2 separate regions of the Homo sapiens genome follow, and region 2 is linked to region 1. The links are contacts of gene promoters, found by promoter capture Hi-C in blood cells and fetal thymus (Javierre and others, 2016). All regions are on one chromosome and are shown on one strand. The core of a region is centred on a gene start or on the middle of the fragment in contact, and the rest is flanking DNA. Distances in the headings are between cores, read along the strand shown.

What was found. Contacts are between HindIII fragments. The CHiCAGO score rates a contact against its expected background, and 5 or more counts as called.
Region 2: a fragment that was not itself captured here is called in contact with the fragment with the promoter of KCNQ1-AS1 in region 1 in 3 of 17 cell types (M1 macrophages, naive CD4 T cells and total B cells); the score reaches 6.4 in M1 macrophages.

What each region holds. Positions count from the first base shown.
Region 1 is chr11:2,859,522-2,865,720 of GRCh38, reverse strand. It overlaps KCNQ1-AS1 (KCNQ1 antisense RNA 1), which reads left to right and starts at 4,152. Exons shown (of 3, transcript NR_130721.1): 1 at 4,152-4,731. RefSeq lists an enhancer at 2,065-2,762. The HindIII fragment of the contact is 10,846 bases long and covers 1-6,199 here.
Region 2 is chr11:2,177,027-2,183,061 of GRCh38, reverse strand. No RefSeq gene overlaps it. Among named protein-coding and RNA genes, the nearest start is that of MIR4686, 7.0 kb to the right of the region's middle. RefSeq lists an enhancer at 5,380-6,035. The HindIII fragment of the contact is 1,577 bases long and covers 707-2,283 here.

The DNA.
Region 1 (6,199 bases), core at 2,903-5,402:
ACATATTTTATTTTAATTAAAAAATATTTTTTGAGATAGGATCTTATTCTGTCACCCAGGTTGGAGTGCAGTGGCACGATCATGGCTCACTGCAGCTTCCAACGCCTGGGCTCAAGCCCTCCACCCACCTCAGCCTCCCGAGTGGCTGAGACCATAGGTGTGTGCCACCATGCCCAGCTAATCTTTAATTTTTTTTTTTTTTTGTAGAGACAGGGTCTCCCTATGTTGTCCAGGCTGGTCTCCAATTCTTGGGCTCAAGTGATCCTCCTGCCTCGGCCTCTCAAAGTGCTGGGATTATAGGCATCTGGCATAAAGGTATATTTTTAATAGAGACAGGGTCTTGCTATGTTGTCCAATCTGGACTGGAACTCCTGGGCTCAAGAGATTCTCTCACCTCTGCCTCTGGAGTAGCTGGGACTACAGGTGTGCACCATTGTGCCCAGCTCAAAGTACCTATTTTAAAGTATTAGAATGTCTATCTATTTGTATACACACACACAAACATATACTGTTTTAATTGAAAGTATTTAACCATAACAAACTGTTCAAGAGACCCGTAATCTGAGTGTGATAAACAAAGTAACAGTTTGGCAGAGAGTTGAGTACAAGCAGCTGGTGACAGTGCTAGGGCGGGAGAAGGCGGCTGGCGTCTTTTAAATGTGTTAGGGAAAGGCCCCAGGTTACAGGATTGGGAATGCGCTGTTGTTGAGAAGTGGCCGAGGGAGTACGAGGACAGTTCAAATGCTCTGGGTCTACCCTCGAGTGTGGGGTGAACATGGCGATTGCAGCAGTGGGTCCACACGGCACCTCAGGGCCCAGGGAGGGTTTGGAGGCGGAGGGCAGCTGGGCTGCACTGTCTTCCCCAGAGGAAGATGGAGGCCTCTGGTTAATGAAGCAACCACAAGGGGTTAGGACCAAGAGATGTTTGTCTCAAATGGGTGTAACCATCCCATTTGAACTGTTTCCTGGAAAGAAATGAAAGGGGGATTCTGACGGGGCACCTGTTATTTTATTGATAGGAAATGGTTTCCATCCCGTGACCATGGAAATTTCCACGGTGCGTCCTGGCCGTGCATATTCTATGAGCCAGCTTCCCCCAGCCCACGGCATGTCACTGTGCTGGCACCCATGAGACAGTGCCCTGCAGGATGGGTGACAAGGGTGGCTGAGCCCTCCGGCCTCGGCCTCGGTGTCTACTGGAACCCCCCATTAGGTCCCCCAGGTGGGCCTTGAGTACCAGCAGGGGTGTGGGCCAGGCCCTGAGCTTCACCCTGAGGGGAAGGTGGATGGGACTCCTTTCAAGAGCCAGGTGAGGGAGGTGTGGCACAGGGCAAAGGTTGAGGCTCCTGGGTGTCCAGGGAAGAGCAGCCCCTGAGGGGCCTGAGGACACTCAGAGGAGGAATGGGTGGAGGAGAGCTGGCAGCCAGGGTGCCCGTGCAAGGGCGCAGCAGGGCAGGCTCAGTGATGTGGAGCTGGAGGGTGGGCATTGAGGCGGAGGTGGGGGGTGGGGGGTGCGGCTGTGAAGGTCACGCCAGGGCCAGGGTGCCAGAGTCAGACTGGTGGCAGTTGGGCCAGATTCACTCTGTCAGCTGACTTCAGTCCCAGCTGAGCCCAAGGCTGAGGGATCCGCCTGCACTTTCAGTCCTCTGGCTGAGCAAATTACGAAAGTATCACAGAATGTTTCAGGAACAGATGATTTTCTTTCTCTTTCTTTCTTTCTTTCTTTCTTTCTTTCTTTCTTTCTTTCTTTCTTTCTCTTTCTTTTTTCTTTCTTTATCTCTTCTTTTTCTTTCTTTCTCTTCCTTTCTTTTTCTTCTTTCTTTCCTTTCTTCCTCCCTCCTCCCTCCTCCTCCTCCTCCTCCTCCTTCTTCTCTCTTTCTTTCTCTTTCTCTTTTTTTTCTTTCTTTTTTGAGATAGGGTCTTACTCTGTCACCTGGGCTGGAGTATAGTGGCACAGTCATGGCTCTATGTAGCCTCCACCTCCCAGGCTCAAGTGATCCTTCCTGGGACTACAGGCGCGCCGCTACGCCTGGCTAAAAAAATCAGAAGATTTTTTGTAGAGATGCGACCTCGCCAGGTTGTGCAGGCTGGACTGGAACTCCTGCGCTCAAGCAGTCCTCCCGCCTCGGCCTCCCAGAGTGTTGGGATTACGGGCGTGAGCCACCGCGCCCGGCACCCTTTTCTTTTTAAAGGTCTGTGGCTGAGTTTTGTATTGGGAGTATTCTTACTTACCCAGAACGTGGCTCTGTCTCTGTTTCATCGCTGGTGGTGGAGCAAGTGAATCACCCACCAATGTATAGGTTTTCTAAGTTTGTGGTTGAAATTTTGCTAGTAAAGTGGACACATCACAAAGAAACTGCCTCCCTCCCTCACTCTGCCCAGCCTGCCCCAGCCCTAGGCTTCGAGGCAGGCCTGGGCTCCCGGAGGATGCTCCCTGGCGCTGTGGGGCCAGAGGCCTGGGCCAGGCTCCTGCTGGGGCTGGAGATGGGCGGGGTGGCGGAGGCCGGCCCTGGCCTGCCTCATTTCTGCGCTCCGACCAGCCTGGGAATCTGTTTCTGTCATGAAAGGCGAGGGTGACCTGGCGGGCTTCTGCTCCTGGTTGGTCAGAAAGTCCGGGGATCCTTGGCTCCGGTTAAAGGGGCCCCCACGTCTGCCGTCTTGCCCGGCCGCCTCCAAGTGCCGCCGGCCCAGGGCTGAGGAAGGCGGGCCGCGGGGAGAAGGCGCGAGGGCCGGGCCGGGCAGGGGGTCCCGGAGCCAACCCCACCGCCCGGGCCGCCCCGGGCCCGCGCCCGCCGCCCCCACCGCGCCGCGCGTCTGTTTGGAGAAGAAAGCGGGCCAATTTGTTTTCATTCAGAATCACTTAAGATCCCATTTTGGAGAAATGAAAAGAGAGAAGCGCGCTTCCCGGGCCCGGGCCGCTGGGTGCCCGCCCGTGCCCGGCGGCGCGTCGAGTGGAGGGACAGCGGCCCCCTCCCTGCCCTCGGCCCCAGCACGCCCGGCCGCGGCTCCCGGAGGTCCGAGGAAGGCGGCGAGGCCGCGCTCATCTGCATGAAGCGCACACTCGCGGCCCATCTGCAAAGGCGCAATTAAACGCGGGGGTGGGGGGGCAGGGGCGCCCGAAATTAGCATTTCCGCGGCCATCTGGCGCGAGGAGCGGGCGCGGCCGGACAAAGGGCGCCGGGCGAGGGGAGAGGCGAGTGTGCCGCGGCATTGACCTGCAAATGAGGCTTTGTGCGCGCATTAAAGCTCGCCGGACCCCCGACCCCGGCCCCCGCCCCGCCCGCCAGGCCCGCGGCCCCTAGCGGCCCAGGCTCGGACTGGGCACCCCGAAGGTCTGGGGGTCGGGCCGGGCAGTGCCGCGACTGGGCAGGGGGCCGGGCCGGGCCGGGCCTGGCCGGGCCAGGACAGGCTGTGGAGCGTCGGAGCCCCCCACCCAGGCTGGGTTCCTCTGCAGCCTCCAGGAGAGCCCCTGGGACCCTGGCCCCTTGAACCCTACCCCTGCCCCCATCCGGTCCTCGCCCCTCTGGGCCGGTATTCCCCAGCCTACTCCTGGAAAGGATTTCTCAGGACGCAGGGGTCCTGGCTAGAATCCCTCGGGGTGGGTAAGTGGAGGGGGCGTGGACAGGTGGGGGCTGCGTGGTGGGGGCAATTTTGTATTGGGAGCTACTAAAAACTGGCCACCTGGACAGGTTTTTGTTTTTGCCATGGTCATTAATGCCCTCAATGTTTGAAAAAGGCCATTTCACAGTGTTTTATGGGCCTTAAAAATCAGGGACTCTTTGAAAATGGTTGTGGGGCAGCTTAGTGACAGCCAGATGATTAGCAAGAGCTCAGTATCAGGTCTTTAGGGGACCAAGTGTGTGGGGTGGTGGTACAGGAAATCTGGGACTCCCCAGCTGGTACAACTGAGGCTGCAGCCAGGGCCAATGGGCCGGGGAGCAGGAGGCCGGGACTGGGAGCCCTGGGGCCAGCTGGGCTCTGCCAGATACCTGGGTCACTTGGAGGCCCCTGGAAGGCCCCCTGGACTTTCTGCCACATTGCTCAGGCTCTGGGTGCCTACAAACTGCCCCCCATGCCGTTGGGCTGCTCATTAGGGGTTGTGGCCCAAATTAAACTGCAGTAGCCACCCCCAGAACCTCCAAAGGCCTGGGGGGCAATGAGGGGCACAGAGGACAGTGTGTGGCTATCTCTGGGTCTCTGTTCTCCCAGGTGGACCAGTGGGGGTTGTGGCGATGCTGTCCAGGGTGAGGTCCAGCTACGGTTGCCGTCCTGTCTGTCAGCACCAGCACCCAGCACATCTGTAGGGCCTGGGCCCCGGACCCAGCCTGAGGGTTATGAGGAGGTTTCCTGAAGGAGAAAAGCCAGAGTGGAGTCTGGAATGGAGCAGGGGGGACCATGGCCTGCCCTCAGTCTGCTAGGTGGGGCTGGAACCTGGGGTTTTGCTTGGGTGTGAAGAAGGAAGAGGCTGGGGATGCAGCTAGGTGCTGGTTCCTCATAGACCGAGTCATGATTTATGGGGACCCTCAATTATATCCCCTTAGCAGGGGCCACAAAGTCTCAAATCTGCCCAGAAATCCACACCTCGGAGCTCAGGTGAGGTCTTCTTCAGGTTCTCCCTCTGCAGTGCAGATACTGTCAGAAAGAGCAAGCTACAAATGGAGAAGTCAACAACACTCTAGTGAGAATTACCCTGCCAATTAATTTTCTCAGAAATCGGGGACTCAGGGACCGGTGTGTAAACACGAGTCCCTTAATGGGGGGTTCAGACAGGGTGGGTGTGGGCACACAGGGGTCCGTGCTAAAGCCTGGCACTGGATCCCAGGTGTGGGGACTCCAGCTCCTCCCAAGGGGCAGGGGATCTCCCGTCTGTGATGTGGCTGAATGACTCACCGCCTCATCTGTGGGCCAACATGTGTGGTGGGGCAAAGGTCTCTGGCCTGGTAGCCGTGTGAGCTGGAGGGGGGGCACTTCTCCATCCAGGCCTTACAGTTTCCCTTAGGTAAATGGGGCAGAGTAACCCCCTCCTTCCCCTACCACAAGGGTTCTGGGAGGTGTGGAGCCTGGGGTGTGGTGGTGCTTGGCACTCCGTGTTCTTTGGAAGCTGGAATGAGGTTCCTCAGGCCAGTTATGGGTGTGAGATGTCTGGAAAAACGAAGTAGACTGGACGGTGGCCTCATCTATCTGTGCTGGGCTGGGCACCAGCACCTCGCTCTCCCAACCTCTTGGGGTGCGCCCATAGAGGAGATGGAAGCACAGAGGATTTCAGAAACTCCCCACCTTCAGTGTTGCCTTCAAAAGTATACTGCTGTGGCATGTGGGCAAGGAGGGTTCTGGGGATGGGTGGGCTGTGGGGGGAGTAGGCGCATGGGTGGGGTGGGCCCAGGGGAGCAGGCATGAACCCAGGGAGAGGGTGCATAGATGGGGTGGAACCCTAGGGCTTCTGAGGGACTGCAGTGCGGCTGGTCTGTGTGGACAGGCGCTGGAGGGGGCACTGTGCAGAGAGCAGGATGTGGGTGAGCCCCTCTTTCCCCTCTGTCCTTCCCATCCTCCAGGACAGGGAAGCAGCCCTCAGCAGACAGTGTGAACCCCATGCCCAGTGTGAGCATGAGCACAGCTCCCTGCGCTTTGTCTTCAGGAGGTCTCAGATCCAGCCTGCATTGGCTTCCAGCAGACCCCTATTTCCTAATCCTCAAGGGTTGTTCTTGTCAGGCATCCCATTTGCAATGCCCTCGAGGGCCGCTGCCCGTCTGGCAGGGAGATCAGCTTCAAGGACACAGACAGTGTCTGCGGTGGGTGCTGAGTGCCGTAGGGGAGACCCTGGGCTGCTTTTGGAAGAGGAGCATCATGGAAGAGGAGCCCTTTCGCTCTGGGCTTTGGAGGATGAGTAGGAGTTTGCTAAACCCAGATGGGGAGGAGGGCCAGTTTGGCAGGTGGCGTTTGGGAGGACCTGGGGCAGCTGCCACAGCATGCGCCGGGCCTGAAGATGCCTCCTGCGCCTGGGTTTCCAGCTCTTGCTTCCTGAGCCGAGTTGGAGCTGATATCCATGCCTCCCAGCCACGGGATGCTCTTTTCAGTGTGACCAACCAGGCAGAAGAGCTGAGTGACAGGCAACTCGTGGCCTGGTCTGTGGAAGGCAGGGCTGCCTCTGAGCCTGCGGGTTGGGGCCAGAGTCCGGGCCTGGGCCTGCCACTCAGGAGGG
Region 2 (6,035 bases), core at 246-2,745, 680 kb after region 1:
TTACCACAGCAAAACAATAATCATTTTACAAGCCCAGTAATAGAAAGCAGTCAGAACAGAGGAGGGTGGCGACAGCCTCGGAGGTCCTCGGGGCTCCAAGTGCACCCCGGCCTGCGGGGAGTGGGCAGGGACGGGGGTGGAGAAGGGAGCGGGCTTCGGGGAAAGGGCCGGAGGGAAGCAGCCCCTGCTCCGAGCCGCCTGGGCCCATGCTGGAGAACCCAAGTCCCGGGTCCACTGGCCGTGGCAGGGAGAGCTGGCCCATGGCTTTGCCATGTGGCGGCTGATCCACCCTCTCTTCTCATCTCTGAGCCGGGTGTTCCCAAACTTCCCTCCTGGTCTGTTCATCCACCAGGCTCTGAGGGCCAGCCCTGCCTGGCAAGGGGGGAACCAAGGGGCCAACTTTAGTTTTCCAGAAGCCTCTGTCCAGGGGAGGAGTCGACGTGAACGAATCGGTCACACACACGCAGAAAGGTGCCGCTGCTGGGGACCTGTGGGGCGGGGGCGGGGCAGAAGGAAGGTCCCCTGTTTGGGGGACCCTTTATTAAAAACAGGCGGCAAGCTGAGGCGTCCAGCTGAGTTCATCCCAGGCCCCAAAGTAATCGCACGGCCAATAAGCCCTGCCTAAGATGAGGACGGGTGGGTCTGGACCGAGGCCCTGGCGGGAGGGAGGGTCCTGGGCGTGCCACCAGCTCTCCGGTCGGAAGCTTCTGCATGGGCCGTGCCCTGCGCTGGGAGACTCCTGCCCGGGCAGCCTTGCTCCAAGGTCGGCTCCACAGAGGGTGCCCGCCCTCTCAGCCCTGGCCTGTGGCACCTGCCCACAGCCCTTTCTTCCCTGGATGCAGTTTTTGCCCCCTCTGTGTCCTCGGCTGCACGAGTAGGGGCTTTCTTGGGTTGGCTGCCCGCCTGGCCCGGACTGACCCGGACTGGCTGAGGCTGAGGCTGACAGTGCAGGGAAGGAGCCAGAAGCCACTATGGCTGCTGTGCAGAGACCAAGGTGTCTCCCTACACCTGTGGCCCCCAGGGCCCCAGGGACACAGGGTCCACACCCTGCCCCACCTGCTCCATCTCCGGGACGCCCTCGCTCCCCAATCTGATTGCACAGGGTGGGGGGCCCAGCAGCCTTGGTGACAGTTCTTCATCCCAAGGGCCCGCCCAGTTTCTCCTGGCTCCTGGGGATGGGAGTGGCCTGGGTTGTGGCCCCACCAGCTCTGTGACAGGGCTCTTGATGCTTCTCAGGCCCTAGTTTTCCTGAGACCTGCTGGCCAGGAGCTCAGGCCTCCTGGTTTCTGGTTACTTTTCCTCCCCTAGAAAGCAGCCTTGGCAGACAGAACAGAGGCCCAGAAGATCCCGGGAGGCTCCCCAGGCCCAGAATCTGGGGAACTTGCAAGGATTTGGAATCCTGGCCGGGTGTGGTAGCCGAGCCTGTAATCCCAGAATTTGGGGAGGCTAAGGTGGGAGGATTACTTGAGGCCAGGAGATTGAGACCAGCCTGGGCAACACAGTGAGACCCCCTCTCTACAAAAAAATTTTTAAAAATAGCCAGGCGTGCTGGTGTGCCCCTGCAGCTCCAGCTACTTGGGAGGCTGAAATGGGAGGATGGCTTGAGCCCGGGAGGTCAAGGCTTCAGTGAGCCATGATCAAGCCACTGCACTTCAGCCTGGGTGACAAAGACCCTGTCTCTCAAAATAAACATTTAAAAAATAGAAGTTAAATCCTCTTTTGGAGACTGTGGGGTGAGGGGAGTGTGGCCACACCACAGCCCTTCCACCTCCCCATTGTGTGCCCCGAACTGTGCTGTGCTGGCCACTGGCCTCACCCTCCCTGAAGCATGGCAGGTCCCCCACCCCCAAGGCCATGCTGGGGTGGGGACAGGGGCCATGTGCTTCCCACTTGGAGGGGGCTGTTCCAGACACCTCCCTGGCCGCCCCTGGCAGGGTCTCGGCTGTACTGGATGTGAGGACCGTGGGCCTCCCTTCCCCCAGACTATGAGAGCCTCCAAAATTGGGACCGTGCTGTTTCCCTTTCCGTGCTGTTTCCCAAAGGGCACCCAGGAAATGCTTGCTGCGTGAATCAGTGAATGAGTGAGTTCATTCACCTGGGGGCTGGGTGGGGACGATGGAGCCTTCCAGCCTCCTGGGACCTGCCCTCAGTGTGGAAAGTGAGGAGGCATCTGTCTTCCTGAGGAAAACCTGGGCTTAGTCCTCCCTCTGGCCCAGGAGGGGACCGGACCCCACAGCTGGAGGGAGCCGGCTTAGCTGACAGCGAGTGTATTAAAAACAAGCTTTGGAGCAAAGCGGACAAGCTCAGGTGTTGGTAGAGTTCATCCCAGGCCCCAAAGTAATCACATGGCAAACAAGCCCTGTCTAAATATCACGGCGGCTGGGGCAGCGGCACGCAGCGGCCTGGAAATGTCAGCCGGGGGTGGGGGCTCCTCCGAGCCCCGGGATTAGCAGAGGTACCTGAAGTGAATGCGCCCACCTCCTCCTTCCTGCTCCTGCTCAGGACCTGGGCTGGGCCAGCCCGGGGCACCTGGGGAGGGGCTCAGAGGGTCTCACTGGGGCCAGGGGCTCTTCTTTCAGCCCCAGCCCGGGCTGGTTCCCATGGGGTAGCAGGCTGAGGAGAGTGGGGAGACTGAGCTTGGCCGGAGTGGGGCGGACGCACTTCCAGGCCCAAACCAGCAGCCCACGGGTGGGGGCAGAGAAAGCTGCCCCCCTGCAGGCCCAGTGAGTCCTCGAGAGAGGGGGCCACCCGGCCATGGGGGGGTGGTGATGTTGGTTCGGGGAACCTAGGGCATCTGGACCAGCCCCTGGACAAGGCGGTCACAGCAGCCACTGCCTGAGCAGGCCACCTGCGGGCTTCCCTCCAGGTCTGCCCATCGGCTCAGGGCTTCCAGAGCCCAAGGGAGCAACACGTTTCTCCTGAGCACGGGTGGAGGGAAAATAAGGATGTTTACGATCGAGTTGCCCATGGAAGCGTTACCAAGCCCCCTGGAGACTCATCTCACCGCAGTGGGACCTTTGCATTCTCTCAGGCGGTGGGGGTCTCTGCCGTGTTGTCCGTAAAGTGTCAGCGTGGGGCCAACTGGGGACCTCAGCAGCCACGTCCAACCCTCATCTGAAACAAGAACTAGAGGCCTGGGCTGCTCCTCCCTTCCCGCCCTCAGGAGCACAGGGTGGCAGGAGGTGAACTCCATGGGCGAGGGGCTCTTGCTCTTGCAGGCCCCCAAAGTCAGGCAGGTGCAGAAGGGAAGGACAGGATTCAGGGACAGGAGACACACAGGGGGTCCCCTCTGTTCCAGGATGCTCCCAAATCTGAGCCCAGCTGCCCCCAGGGTGGAGGGTGTGTGGACAGCCGGCCAAGAGGGGCGGGGCCACAGAAGGCCCTGGCGAGGCCGTGGGGCCAAGCAGAGGAGCCTACAGTGGCTGGCCAGACGGGTCCTAGGTGATGCAAGGGGTCCTCCGCACCCCTGTTCTGTTTCCCCGGCTCTGACCCAGTGTGCGGCCTCTCCTCCATGTCTGTATGTGGCTGCCTCCAAGGCCCCTCTCCTCAGGCCCTGTATGTCCAAGCTGGGCCTCCTTCCTCTGATCGCCCTTGGGAGAGGTGGCATTGAGGTCACCTCCTCCCCTCCCAGAGTCTGCATCTTGTGGGCAAATGCCCCAGTGCCTCCCACCATCCTCCATGCATGCAGCTGCCTGCCCAGGTCCCCTGTGAACGCAGCCCAGGGCCGTGCAGGCCACAGGCGGGGCTCCTCTCCCCAGGTGGGGCCTCCAAGTCTACACGTGTGGCTGGGAAGGGGAGTCACAGCACAGATGGAATGAAGCACATGAGCCCTGGGTGTGGACCTGCCTCAGCTCAGAGCAGCGGTGGGACCACATCTTCTCCCTGCCACAGGCCAGGTGACTAGCACCCAAGCCCGTGGCACTGGCACTGCTGGGGGGCCAGGGCGGGCTGTGGCCTTGCAATGAGATGTGATTTGCTGTCAAAGCACAGCTGCCGCCTCGGTGAGTGACTAATGAGAACTGAATGCCGCTCTTATTGCTTTTCACTCGACTAATTTGTCAGAGGCTGTCAAGAGCCAGGGGGAGGGGGCAGAGGGTGGGGACCGGAGGTCTGATTGAGTCACCGGCATGGGGGCGAGGCTGGGTGCCCGGAGGGGTCTGCAAGAAACCAGGAGCACCTGGCAGGAACTCAGGGCCGGTGGGGACCTTGGCCATGATGTCGTGTGAGAGTCCGGAGGGACACAGGAGCTGGGGTCACCCTGTTTGTTCCATATCAATGGCTGGTCAGCTCTTCTAAGCCCCTACTGTACACACACATGCACATGCATACATAGGACACACACACACACTTACACAAACACACGCATGCATGCATGTGGACATAAAATCATACACTCACATGAATAATTTTAGAAGCATGTACAACACATGTACACGCAGAGAAGCACTCCCACACATGCTTCCTGGCACACACACACACGCGCACACACACACACCCTTGAATGCACACTCTGTCTCCCACACAGACACAGACCAGCGAAAACTCCAGGCCAAGCTCTGGTGCGTGGGTTCCCAAGCCTGGCTGCACACACAACCAGGGTGCTCTCGGCAATTCCAGCATCTCCATACCCCTGGAGCCTCTTGTCCTGGTGTGGGCTTCCTGGTGATGTGGGCCAGCCAGGTATGGGTGGAACCGTCCTACTCCCCCTCCAGCCCCAAGCCTGAGCCAGCCTGAGTCTGGCATGGAGCTCCTGGAGCCAGGTGAGCAGTGAGGGGCGCTGGGAGCTGGGGAGATGCCCTGTGGGTAGGAGATGCGCACCCCGCCCACCCGGATGCCCTTCCTTCCAGCTGAATGCCTGGCTGCCAGGGACCACGGTGACTTCTCTTGCTTGGCTCTGTAACCTGCCCCCTTCGTACCCTTTCCCTCCCTCTGCCTCCACCTCTGCCCGACTCGGTCCCACAGGACCCTCTGGCCACTGGATCCCCTTCCCTGGAAGCACCCCTCACTGCTCACCTGGCTCCAGGAGCTCCATGCCAGACTCAGGCTGGCTCAGGCTTAGGGCTGGAGGGGGAGTAGGACGGTTCCACCCATACCTGGCTGGCCCACATCACCAGGAAGCCCACACCAGGACAAGAGGCTCCAGGGGTATGGAGATGCTGGAATTGCCGAGAGCACCCTGGTTGTGTGTGCAGCCAGGCTTGGGAACCCACGCACCAGAGCTTGGCCTGGAGTTTTCGCTGGTCTGTGTCTGTGGGCCTTTGGGGGTCCCACACACACAAGGGGCTCAAGGCTGACCCCTCCTCCCACAAGGGCCTGCAACTGCTAATCCCTGATGCCCCCCACTGTGTGGATGGCAAAACTGAGTCCAGGGCCCAAGGGGCTGAGTCAGGACCCTCTTTTCGGCCCCCTACATGGTGGGTCTCAACACTGAGGCAGTCCCTACAGGCAACAAGGATGGAAGGACAGCACTGGCTGTCCAGGCTGGAGGGACTCAGAGAGGAGGCCACTGGGGGACTGCCTGGAGGAGGAGGGCAGCCCGGGCCTGAGGGCCTGGCAGGATTTGGTGGGGAAGGGAAAGTGGAGCCCCAGGTGGGCAGCAGCAGTAGCAGAAGGGGGGCAGGGAGCCGTCTGTGGGGGACAGGGAGGGTCCGGCTGCCTGTCCAGGGTGTGGAGGAGGAGAGGCAGCCCACAGGCTCAGAGCCCGAAGGAGGCGTGGTGCCTGCTCTGCCGGCCTCGCTCTGGGCCTGACTTCCAAACACCCAATTATCCCTAAGTGCATCCGATCGACTGGCAGGGCGGCTGTTCCGGGGCCCACCTCGTCCATGCGCTCCGCCCGCCCTGCTGTGGGGCTCCATCTGATGGCCTCATTAGGGCTAATTGCTCTGGCATTTGGGTCTGACAGGGACGGCGGATTCTGTCCTGTGTTGGGGCGTCTTGGTTCTTCCAGCTTGGGGGATGGAGGGGAGCTGCTTCCTTACACGGCAGAGAAAGGCCCTGCACCCCAGGCGGGGCAAGATGGCGTGAGGGGAGGACGC